2 separate regions of the Homo sapiens genome follow, and region 2 is linked to region 1. Evidence: promoter capture Hi-C in 16 types of primary human blood cells and fetal thymus (Javierre and others, 2016). All regions are on one chromosome and are shown on one strand. The core of a region is centred on a gene start or on the middle of the fragment in contact, and the rest is flanking DNA. Distances in the headings are between cores, read along the strand shown.

Region 1 (4,992 bases), core at 695-3,194:
ATAGGAACCTCAACTCTGATCATTCTGCCTTTGCAATCAAAGAAACGGAGAAGCTGTGAGAACATTCCATGCTTCTCTAGGAGCCAAGCTGCAAATGTATTAGGGCCAGAGAATTCTGACTCCCATTAAAATGAGCAGCTCTGAAAGGAGGGAGCGGGGAATCCCTCCCTGCCACTGTAGAGGATTTATGGGTTGCCCTTAAGTTCCCAAACCAAATTGTGGCACTGGGGTTTTTATGAGAAACGTGTCAACATGACAAAATGATTCAGAGCACAGGATTTGGAGTCACACAGATCTAGTTTTCAGCGAGACTCCTGTTTCCTTCTCTATAAAGGGGACATTTTAACACCTACTTCACATGTATTTAACTTTCGCCCTAACACTGAACTGAAGTGCAAAGCCTTGGAAACAAATTTAAATAAATTGAAAATACTGCAATTCACAAATAAGAGTGAGAACAACATTTTTAGTTACGTAAGACTATATTATATTAAATTAGGTGGCAGCAGTATTTATAATAATCTAAATTGCCTGTGAGAAAATTAAACTGGTATTGTCAATACATACTTAAAATAAGAAAAAAATCCCACTACAGTCTGTCCTTTTTGACACTTTCTCCTTCCTGTAATTTTTTTCTTTCACTCAAGATTAAAAACAAACGTTCAAGATTATCCCTAAAGAGAAATAGTTGGAAAGCACAATTTAATAGCAAGTTGGTTCTATAAATGTAATATTTCAGTTCATAGTTCAAAAATACTTCCAAATAGGAATTAACATGAATTTAAGAAATTAACATAATGGCACACAGCTAAACTGATGATCTGAGTCCGTAATTTCAAATTAAGAGTTGTTCCAACTTGAAGCTGGCAGTCATACACAGTTTAAAGGGTTTGTTTACAGCACTGTCAAAAGCAAATACCACAATCTTTCAGAAAATTCACCCTGGCATTCTAATAACTAGTTATTTTAAGGCAGTATAATTGTTGAAATACTTCACAAACTAAGCCAAAATGCGTTTCCTTCTGAAGGCAAAAAAAAAAAAAAAAAAAAAAGGTGACGTCTTATTTTTAACCTGTGATTTTTTTTTTTTTTCAGTTTCGGATTATGAAATAAAATGCTGTTCATCCACTGAAGAACAGACCCTTGCTTCCTGCACTATCTTCAAAAGTTTAGGTCGGAGGAGGTAAAATTTTAAAAACTGATTTGTTCTCCTTGGGATACAGTGAGATGTGGAATTCGTTAGGAATGATAATTATTAATAGAAAAGATCAAAAGAAGGAAAGAAACGTTAATAGTGTTTATAAGCATTGTGAACTTTCAACAAAGCTGAAACGTTACGATTTCAAGATGAAAAAACGGCTTTGGGGAAGGGAAATCCACCTCGAGAATGAAGACAAGTGCGGAGCGAATAGAATTTCAGGGGAGATGAAAAGGGGATTGGGAAAAACGTGGGATCTGGTAACAAAAAGGGGGGTTTGTTCTTGAAGGGCGTTCTGCGGGGCGGGCGTTAAGAGGGGTGCGTGCGTGCGCCTGGGTGAAGTTTGTACTCAGGGCTGCGATAATCGAGGTGACAAAGTTGTGGAAGTAGAATTCGGAGGTCCGGGAGCAGGAAGGGGAAGGAATGTGGGGATTTCCAGGCTGGGCTGACAAGTTCCGGGCGCTGCTCTCAGGGGGAAGGGAGGTCTCCTCGAGTGCCAGATAGCCCGTCCGAAACCACCGACACTCTAACTCCAGCTACGCGACCCAGCACCCGGCCCCTCCTCACCTCAGGCCGCGCCGCCTCGACCCTCCGCGTCTCCACAGCGCACGAACCCCTTGGCGCCAGGCTGGGCCAGACCCGTCGGCCTGGCAGGCGCGGCCCCCGGTTCAGCTGCGCCGGGGCGGCCCAGCGCGACTCCGCGGGCCTTTTGGCTGCTCGCCCCGGCTCCGGAACACTGTCAGATCCTTCTCCGCAGAGGTAGCGCGCCACCCCAGTCCCGCGGCGGGGCGGGGCGCTCCCCAATCCCGCCCAGCTGCGCCCCCGGCCGGCCAACGCTGCGCCCCGCCCCCTACCGGGACCTAGGCGCTGATTGGCCCCTGAGAGACCCTTTGCGCCCAGGCATTGGTCCAGTGGCCGCCTGTCGACGAGGGGGCGGGACTCCGAGGGGTAGCGATTCCCGTAACGCGGCTCTTCGCGTCCCGGATTCCGGTGGCTGCGTCCGCGTCGCCTCTCCCAGACTAGATCGAAGGGTTCCCCCCACCTCCCCTCTGTGGGCGGAAAGAGCGGAATGTTCCATTTTTCTGTGGAATAACGGGGTCATGAACTGGAGCCCGGGTGCTGCCCGCCGCCCGCTGCCCCCGCCCTCCCTTCTCGCCAGGGCGCCTGCGGCCTCTCTTCGCGGCCTTCCCCGAGGGACTCAGAGCCGCGAGGGACCGCCTAGCTCCCTTGGGGATGGGGAAGGCGTGGGAGCCTCTTGGGGAAAGTGAAGAGCTCGGTGGCCGTGACTCCGCACGAGACTGCGGCAGATTGTGGCGGCGGCTTCTCTCCAAGACTTACGTAAACGAGCCTTGCCACAGTACTTTTTTAAATTAGTAAATGAGTTTGGGTGCGATTGATCAGTGAGCCCCAGAGGTGGTGGCCCACCAAGCGACTAGTGTTTCTTTGCGGTTTGTACCTCCCCGTTTATGATAAAAAATACCGGGTAAAAACCTATTCATCCCGCCTCCGCCCCCCCCTTTCCCTCAGAAAATGGACCTCAAGGCTCATGATGTTTGTTTCTCCCCAAAGGAAGATGAGAATCTTGAGTTAAAAGATAAGGCATGTGCGTGCGTGCGTGTGGGGTGTGTGCGTGGGTGTCTGTAAAAGTAAACACCCAAAGGTAGAGGTTTTTGTGGAAGAATGAGAGGATATAGGAAGGAAATAATGGTTTAATGAACTTAAATTATATCCATAAATTAACAATTATAAAGTTCTTCATTATATTGAGGATTCAGATAGAGTAAAACATAGATCGAATTTTAATCTCTTAGTTGTTGATCAGATAATTTATAAAAGGGCAAAGTGGGCCTGCTAACGGAGTCGCAGGCAAAGTAGATGGTGCTGCAGCTGATGTGTTCAGCTCTTGCTCCTCCCTGTCATCCTATATCTAACCTATAGATTGTGACCAGATTCTGTTCTAGCTTTGCCATTTAGAGGGGTGTTTATTTTAAAACAAATTTTTATAAAAATTTGTTAAATTGAAAATTTTGTATAGATCCAGGAAACTTGATTTTTTTGTTGTTGTTCACAGTCTCACTCTGTCACCCAGGCTGGAGTGCAGTGGCTGGATCATGCTCACCGCACGTTCAAATTCCTGGGCTCTAGCGATCCTCCCACCTCAACCTCCCAAGTATCTCAGACTACAGGTGCCCCTACAATACCTGGCCAATTTTTAAAATTTTTGGAGAGACAAGATTTTGGTATGCTGACCCGGCTGGTCTTGAACTGCTGGCAACAAACGATCCTCCGGCCTTAGTGGCCTCCCAAAGTGCTGAGATAACAGGTGTGATGCAAAGATGTATTTAGGGGAGATGTATAGTGGTTAAATGTACCCTCTGGTTCTAGATTGCCTAGGTTTAAATGCTGATGCCTCTATTTCTCATCTCTGTGACCTTGGGCAAGTCTTTTCAAATTTCTTCATCTGCAAAATGAGAATAACAATACCAACCTAACAGGATTGTTGCAAGGATTAAATGAGTTAAAATACATACAGTGTTTGGCACATAGTAGGTGCTCTGTAAGTATCAGCTATAATCATTATTGAATGTCTACTCGGTCAACACTTCTGAAATATTTTAGTATCACAACATATATTAAAAATGATGATATTTTGCTGGACGGGGAAGGGCAGGTACACAGAAGTGGATTGATATGTCACAACACACCAGCCTGCCTTGGCACCATTAGGAAAACAAATGACTGAGTTAGTGCTTTTATGGGTGTCTTTTTATTGGCTCAGCTCAGGTCCTGCTCCCAAGAAACTCACATTTTATGGGAGTAGTTAAAGTCTGAGGCCAAAAGGATGAATCAATATTGGAGAAGTATTTTTCAGAGCAACAGGACGGAAGACCTCTGCTGTGCTGGAATTACATGACTTTGCAGATACCTCTGTAGAGTATTGGCCTTGAAATTACGAATTTCAGATTAAGGATTTGTTACTAGAAAGCCTTGTCAAAATGCAAAGGTAAGTAGGGGAAAGTAGTATATTAATGGAGAACTCTCCATTTGTGTCCTGTGACCATTTGAGATTTTAGATATGTCAAGAGCAGGCCGGGTGCAGTGGCTCACACCTGTAATCCCAGCATTTTGGGAGGCTGAGGCAGGCGGATCACTTGAGGCCAGGAATTCAAGACCAGCCTGGTGAAACCCCAACTCTATTAAAAATACAAAGATTAGCCAGGCATGGTGGTGGGTGCCTGTAATCCCAGTTACTTGGGAGGCTGAGGCACGAGAATCACTTGAACCCAGGAGGCAGAGGTTGCAGTGAGCTGAGATCCTGCCACTGCACTCCAGCCTGGGTGACAGAGCAAAACTCCTTCTCAAAAAAAAAAAAAAAAAAAAAAAGAGATTGAGGAAACTGTACAGTGAGAAAGTAACATGAAGGCACCAAAATTACAATTACTTGGGAGTAAGTGAGCAAAGCTTAGGAAATTGTGCCATGGAACAAAGGTGATAAATGTCAAAGACAAACTTTGCCTGCATTTCTAATTCCCTAAATCTGGTGCTGACTAGGATATCCCTTTACTTCCTTGTCTGTGCCCAGTTATGTTTCTGAAATTCTGTGTCAGCCCTGGAATTATCCTCATGTTCTGTATCACCTTAATGATTTCAGCATCCATGTTCATGACTCATTAGCACTCTGACCTCACAATTTCTCATCGTTTTCTTTTCCAATCATCTTCAACTTCACTCTGTATCAGCAACCCACAGATGGAGCCACACCTTCAACCTAGTCATCAATGAAATTACTTCCC
Region 2 (5,034 bases), core at 89-2,588, 100 kb after region 1:
AGTGTTCTGAGCACATTAAAGGTAGGCTAGGATAAGCTATGATGTTTGGTAGGTTAAGTGCGTTAAATGTATTTTTGGGCTGGGCGTGGTGGCTTATGCCTGTAATCCCAGCACTTTGGGAGGCCGAGGAGGGAGGATTGCTTGAGCCCAGGAGTTTGAGACCAGCCTGGGCAACATGGCAAAACTTCATCTCTACTAAAAATATAAAAAAGTAGCTAGATGTGGTGGTGTACACCTTGTAGTCCCAGCTACTTGGGAGGCTGAGTTTGGGGAATCACCTGAGCCTGGGAAGTTGAGGCTGTAATGAGCCATGATCACACCACTGCACTCCAGCCTGGGTGACAGAGTGAGACCTGTCTCAAAAAATTAAAAAAAAAAAAAATCGACAACGCTATTTTCACCTTACAATGGGTTTGTTGGGACATAATTCCATCATAACATGAGGAGCATGTGCATATTTCTCATCATGGTGGGGTTTTCTAAAATGAGACTGAGTGCCAAGTTGTGCTGTGGTAGAGCTGAAACGGATAATAAGCTGGAGCCACAGCAATCTATTTATATTGGTTTACTTCCAGCAAGATGAGAACATTGGAATTCAGTGTTTACTGGAAGAAATAACACCTATGTTAAACCAGGTGATTACCAAAGGGAACTAAGAAAAATGAAAAAAAATCAGCAACCCTAACTTCCAACAACTCTAACTGGTTTAGCACAAAGTACTGAGTTGGTGGGCACTTTCCACAAATTGCCTGTGTAGATGTACAAACCCAATAAACAAATTCAGGAAGAAGGCTTTGCCCAGGGTATACCACACTATGAAATTTGAATGAATTTTCTGGAACAGGAAAATGATGGTTTGGGGATTATATATGTGAATTATGGGACTAGAGAGACCTCACTTTTCTTTCTTTTTGAGACGGAGTCTCGGTCTGTCACCAGGCTGGAGTGCAGTGGCGCAATCTCCCGGGTTCAAGCGATTCTCCTGCCTCAGCCTCCCGAGCGCCACCACGCCCAGCTAACTTTTTTTTTTTTTTTGAGACTCTGTCGCCCAGGCTGGAGTGCAGTGGTGCGATCTTGGCTCACTGCAAGCTCCGCCCCCTGGGTTCACGCCATTCTTCTGCCTCAGCCTCCTGAGTAGCTGGGAATACAGGCGCCCGCCACTACGCCCGGCTAATTTTTTGTGTATTTAGTAAAGACGGGGTTTCGCCGTGTTAGCCAGGATGGTCTCGATCTCTTGACCTCGTGATCCGCCCACCTCGGCCTCCTAAAGTGCTGAGATTACAGCCGTGAGCCACCGTGCACGGTCAGAATACATTTCTTTACTTCTTTTGAAGTTAGGCATGTCCACACAGTTTGACTTGGCAAATGAAATGTGAGAGTAAATAATGAGATTCACCTCTCATTTCCTCTGGTTTGGTCACCAAAGAAGAACATATTGAAATGGAATCTACATCAGCCAACTCTGCCGGCTGGTATGAGACATGTATTGTGAATAAGAAACAAACCGTGTCAGCCAGTGAGATTTGGAGGTTGTTTATTGTTAAAGTGGAAGCTAGCCTACCCTGACTGATGCAGGCAGTGTAGGGCTAGGTAATCTACTTGTGGATGGACATGGATTCAGAAGTAGCCTGTGACACAGCTGAACAACTTAACAGTCTGATGCCAAACAACCTAACAGGTTGATGCTTAAAGAATGACTCTTCAAAGATGAGAACAGCCCACAAACAAAACAAAACAACACAAAAGGAAAATTCTTCAGAAGCTATGTCCTGAAGTCCTTCTGTTTGTAACAGGACTTTCTTTCCCTCTAGCTACTGCCCAGCTTGGAAGGCTGATCCGTACACTTTCTCCTTTACAATCTCTGATTCATGCAACTATCATCGTCAAAAAGAGATTGTGGACTAGGCTGGGTGTGGTGGCTCAGGCCTGTAATCCCAGCACTTTGGGAGGCCAAGGTGGGTGGATCACCTGAGGTCAAGAGTTCGAGACCAGCCTGGCCAACATGGCAAAACCTGTCTCTATTAAAAATACAAAAAAATTAGCCGGGCATGGTAGCGTGTGCCTGTAATCCCAGCTACTCGGGAGGCTGAGACAGGAGAATCCCTTGAACCCAGCAGGCAGAGGTGGCAGTGAGCTGAGATTGCGCCACTGCACTCCAGCCTGGGCGACAGAGGGAGACTCCATCTTAAAAAAGAAAAAAAAGAGATTGTGGACTAATGACATCTTTTATGATTGCTTTCTACATCCCCCTTCCTTGCCAACTCCCTCTTTGCCTCTCTACTTCCTTCCTTCCTGAAAAAAAATGAAATGATCAAGTGCCTACTTTGTGCCAGGCATTGTATAAATTTCTAGAAGTGCAAAGCCAAAGGATTGTGATTTGGCCCCAGAGGAGTGTCTATCTAGTTAATGGTATAGTCTAACCTTTCCAAACAAATACTACTAATATAAAGTGGTGAATGTTATACAGGTACTTGAGATATTCACAAAATAATATCTAGGCTCCCAAATAACATAGAGTGGCCATCATCTTATGTGGCTAAGCCTTGAACTTTATGCAGACCCCTAGCACAAATCAATCCAAACAACACATAATTATCTTAGTAAGATCCGCAGTTAGTTGTAGTCATTCAAAACTTTGCTAAGTCTTAAGTTTGCGAAAGTCTTGAGTAGGCAAGAGACCATTATTTTGAAACAGAAAAATAGTTAAATATGTAGAGTATTTGAGAAATGTGTGAGAACTGCCTATTCAACTCTGTTGGGCCAGGATGTAGATCTTTCCAAATCACATGACTTCTCCCTGTTGGCACAATCAATCATATCTGAAAATGATGACATATGGAAATAATTAAATAACAAAGAAGAGAGATAAACATTGTCAAGTGACTTGGGCTGTAGCCAGGAACTGACAATGTTAAAAAATATTTTGCAGAAGATTGTACATTTAAAAGCCGTAAACTGTGACTGATCATAGGAATTTATTTTTAAATAGGTTTCATTAGTTCAAGTTAGAATGACAATAAATGTGAAGACATGTTTGTCTGGGATGTGGTTTTTTTTTTGTTTTGTTTTTTGCTTTTATTCAGCAAAGCGTACTTTTTTTCCCAAAACATAAAATCATTCAGCAAAAAAACAACCAAAGAACAATAACAAAAAAACAGTGCACATGCCACAAAGCAAACCAAACATAGCTCAGTTTTCCTACTGATAACATATTTTGTCTTTTAATTTTGGCATGTGGAAGTCACAGAAATTCACAGACTTAATATGCACACCCAAATATTCTAAGTGCTTATTTAGGGAGTATCTTTATTTGGAATAAAGAATTTCGAGTTATAAAACTGATGGCTTATAGAATGCAGCTTACTAAATTGGTCTTCGTTCTTACAAACTGGAGTAATCTTGTCCTTTGAGAGTTGAAAATACATATTCATCTACATTTCTGCAGCGAGTGGCCCACAGTTAATTTTCATCACTGGTGGGGTTGGCAGAATGTTCACTCTCTTCTGCTGCTGTGCTGTGTCTTCGTTGACTTGGAATTGCAGGAAGCACTCGGTTTGTCCGCAGAGGTTCTCCAGATAGAACTGGGAAGAAAGAATAGAACAAGAGACTTTCAAGATTTGCTTCTCTAACAGGAAGGCGGCAGGAGAATTGTATTGTGTTTTAGGAGTCGAGGCATTTCTAAGAAGTGTGTCTTGGTGAGAGCTAGACTGCAGAGAGAAGCTGTGTATGTATATCTTGTATATATATCTGTTCAGGCTTGCTGCATGAAGTCTGGGATTTCAAATATGCACACATAGAAGACTGTACCAAGTGTGATCAAACATGATTGGGCTGTGTGTGCCTGGCAGAGCTCTTCCTTGGAGTGGAGTAGCTGTTGATGTTCAAAAACTGCTCACAAGGTTCTAAAGAAGGCCCAAGACATTTGTACTGTGCTTTTATGCAAACCTCAAAAGGCTCTCAGGCTTCTTTTAAGAAAAGCACTGTGGGCCCTTTCATTTCTTTTTTGTAGAGCTAAGTTGATCAAAGATCTTTATCTTTCCTTCTCTCCTGAAACTTAACTGTGAAAAGCAAAGCTCTTGGGCCCTGCCAAAGAAAACCTCTCTTCGGCTTCTCCAAGCTCCAACAGCATTCAAGACTGAGTGGCTCTTTCCTTAACTAGATGTTTTTGTGGCTACAGTTCTGCTTAAAGACAGGTTCGGGCTTGAATTTCATTCAATGATAGAATTGACACCATCCAAAACGTTCACTTTACACACATCTGTAAAGGGCAGAGGAACTGATCTGTCAAGGAAGAGGTCTTGGTTTCTGCTACTAACTCTCTGTGTGACCTTGGACATATCCCTCTACCTCTTAGTTTCCTTATCTGCCAAAAGACAGAGTTGTACTAAGACCCTATTTTTCATTGTTTTTACCTAAAGAGTTCTAGAGCTCTTGGTTTGTCTCCTTCAAACCCTAGCCTAGGGGAGAAAGACATACTGGATATATACTCTATGCAAACAGTGTGCCAAGTGTTTTACATATGTTATCTCATTTAGTACTCCGATAAATCTTATTAGAATAGCACTATTGTTATGGACGGTGAGGAAACTAAAGTACAGAAAGGTTGAGAAACTTATCTGAAATAGGACAGCTCCTAAATCGTCTAACCTGCACTTAGGAGGATGTGGAGGGGCTGTGTGTGTGTGTGTTTGTCTGTGATAAATGCAGTGGGGTGCAATTGGAAGAAAAAAAGAAAATAGAATCCAGTAAGTATTGCTTATTTCATGAGGCAGTAGACTCAGTGTCCTGTAGTTTTGTTCCTGGCTCTACAATGGGAATAATAATAAAACTTGCTTTATTATTATTATGCTTCAGAGTATAGATATGAGAATATTCAAACTCAGAATCTCTGGGTGGGGGACCCAGGAATCTACTTCACAACAAACACCCCAGGTAATACTTAGGCACACTAAAGTTTGAAGATCACTGGCCCAATGGAGTATATTAATATTTTATATTAGGAGAATTTTTTTCATATAAAATAAATCAATAATA

Evidence for each region. Contacts are between HindIII fragments. The CHiCAGO score rates a contact against its expected background, and 5 or more counts as called.
Region 2: a contact is called between a fragment that was not itself captured here and the fragment with the promoter of IL6ST in region 1, in 3 of 17 cell types (non-activated CD4 T cells, naive CD4 T cells and activated CD4 T cells). The highest score is 5.9, in non-activated CD4 T cells.

What each region holds. Positions count from the first base shown.
Region 1 is chr5:55,993,019-55,998,010 of GRCh38, forward strand. It overlaps IL6ST (interleukin 6 cytokine family signal transducer), which reads right to left and starts at 1,945. Exons shown (of 17, transcript NM_002184.4): 1 at 1,766-1,945. IL6ST-DT (IL6ST divergent transcript) reads left to right here and starts at 2,149. Exons shown (of 2, transcript NR_102755.1): 1 at 2,149-2,536. RefSeq lists cis regulatory regions at 713-3,031, 1,725-2,398, a silencer at 1,676-2,155 and an enhancer at 1,987-2,498. The HindIII fragment of the contact is 8,053 bases long and covers 1-4,658 here.
Region 2 is chr5:56,096,724-56,101,757 of GRCh38, forward strand. ANKRD55 (ankyrin repeat domain 55) reads right to left here. Exons shown (of 12, transcript NM_024669.3): 12 at 2,957-3,581. The coding sequence ends at 3,460. Among named protein-coding and RNA genes, the nearest start is that of IL6ST-DT, 100 kb to the left of the region's middle. The HindIII fragment of the contact is 7,933 bases long and covers 1-5,034 here.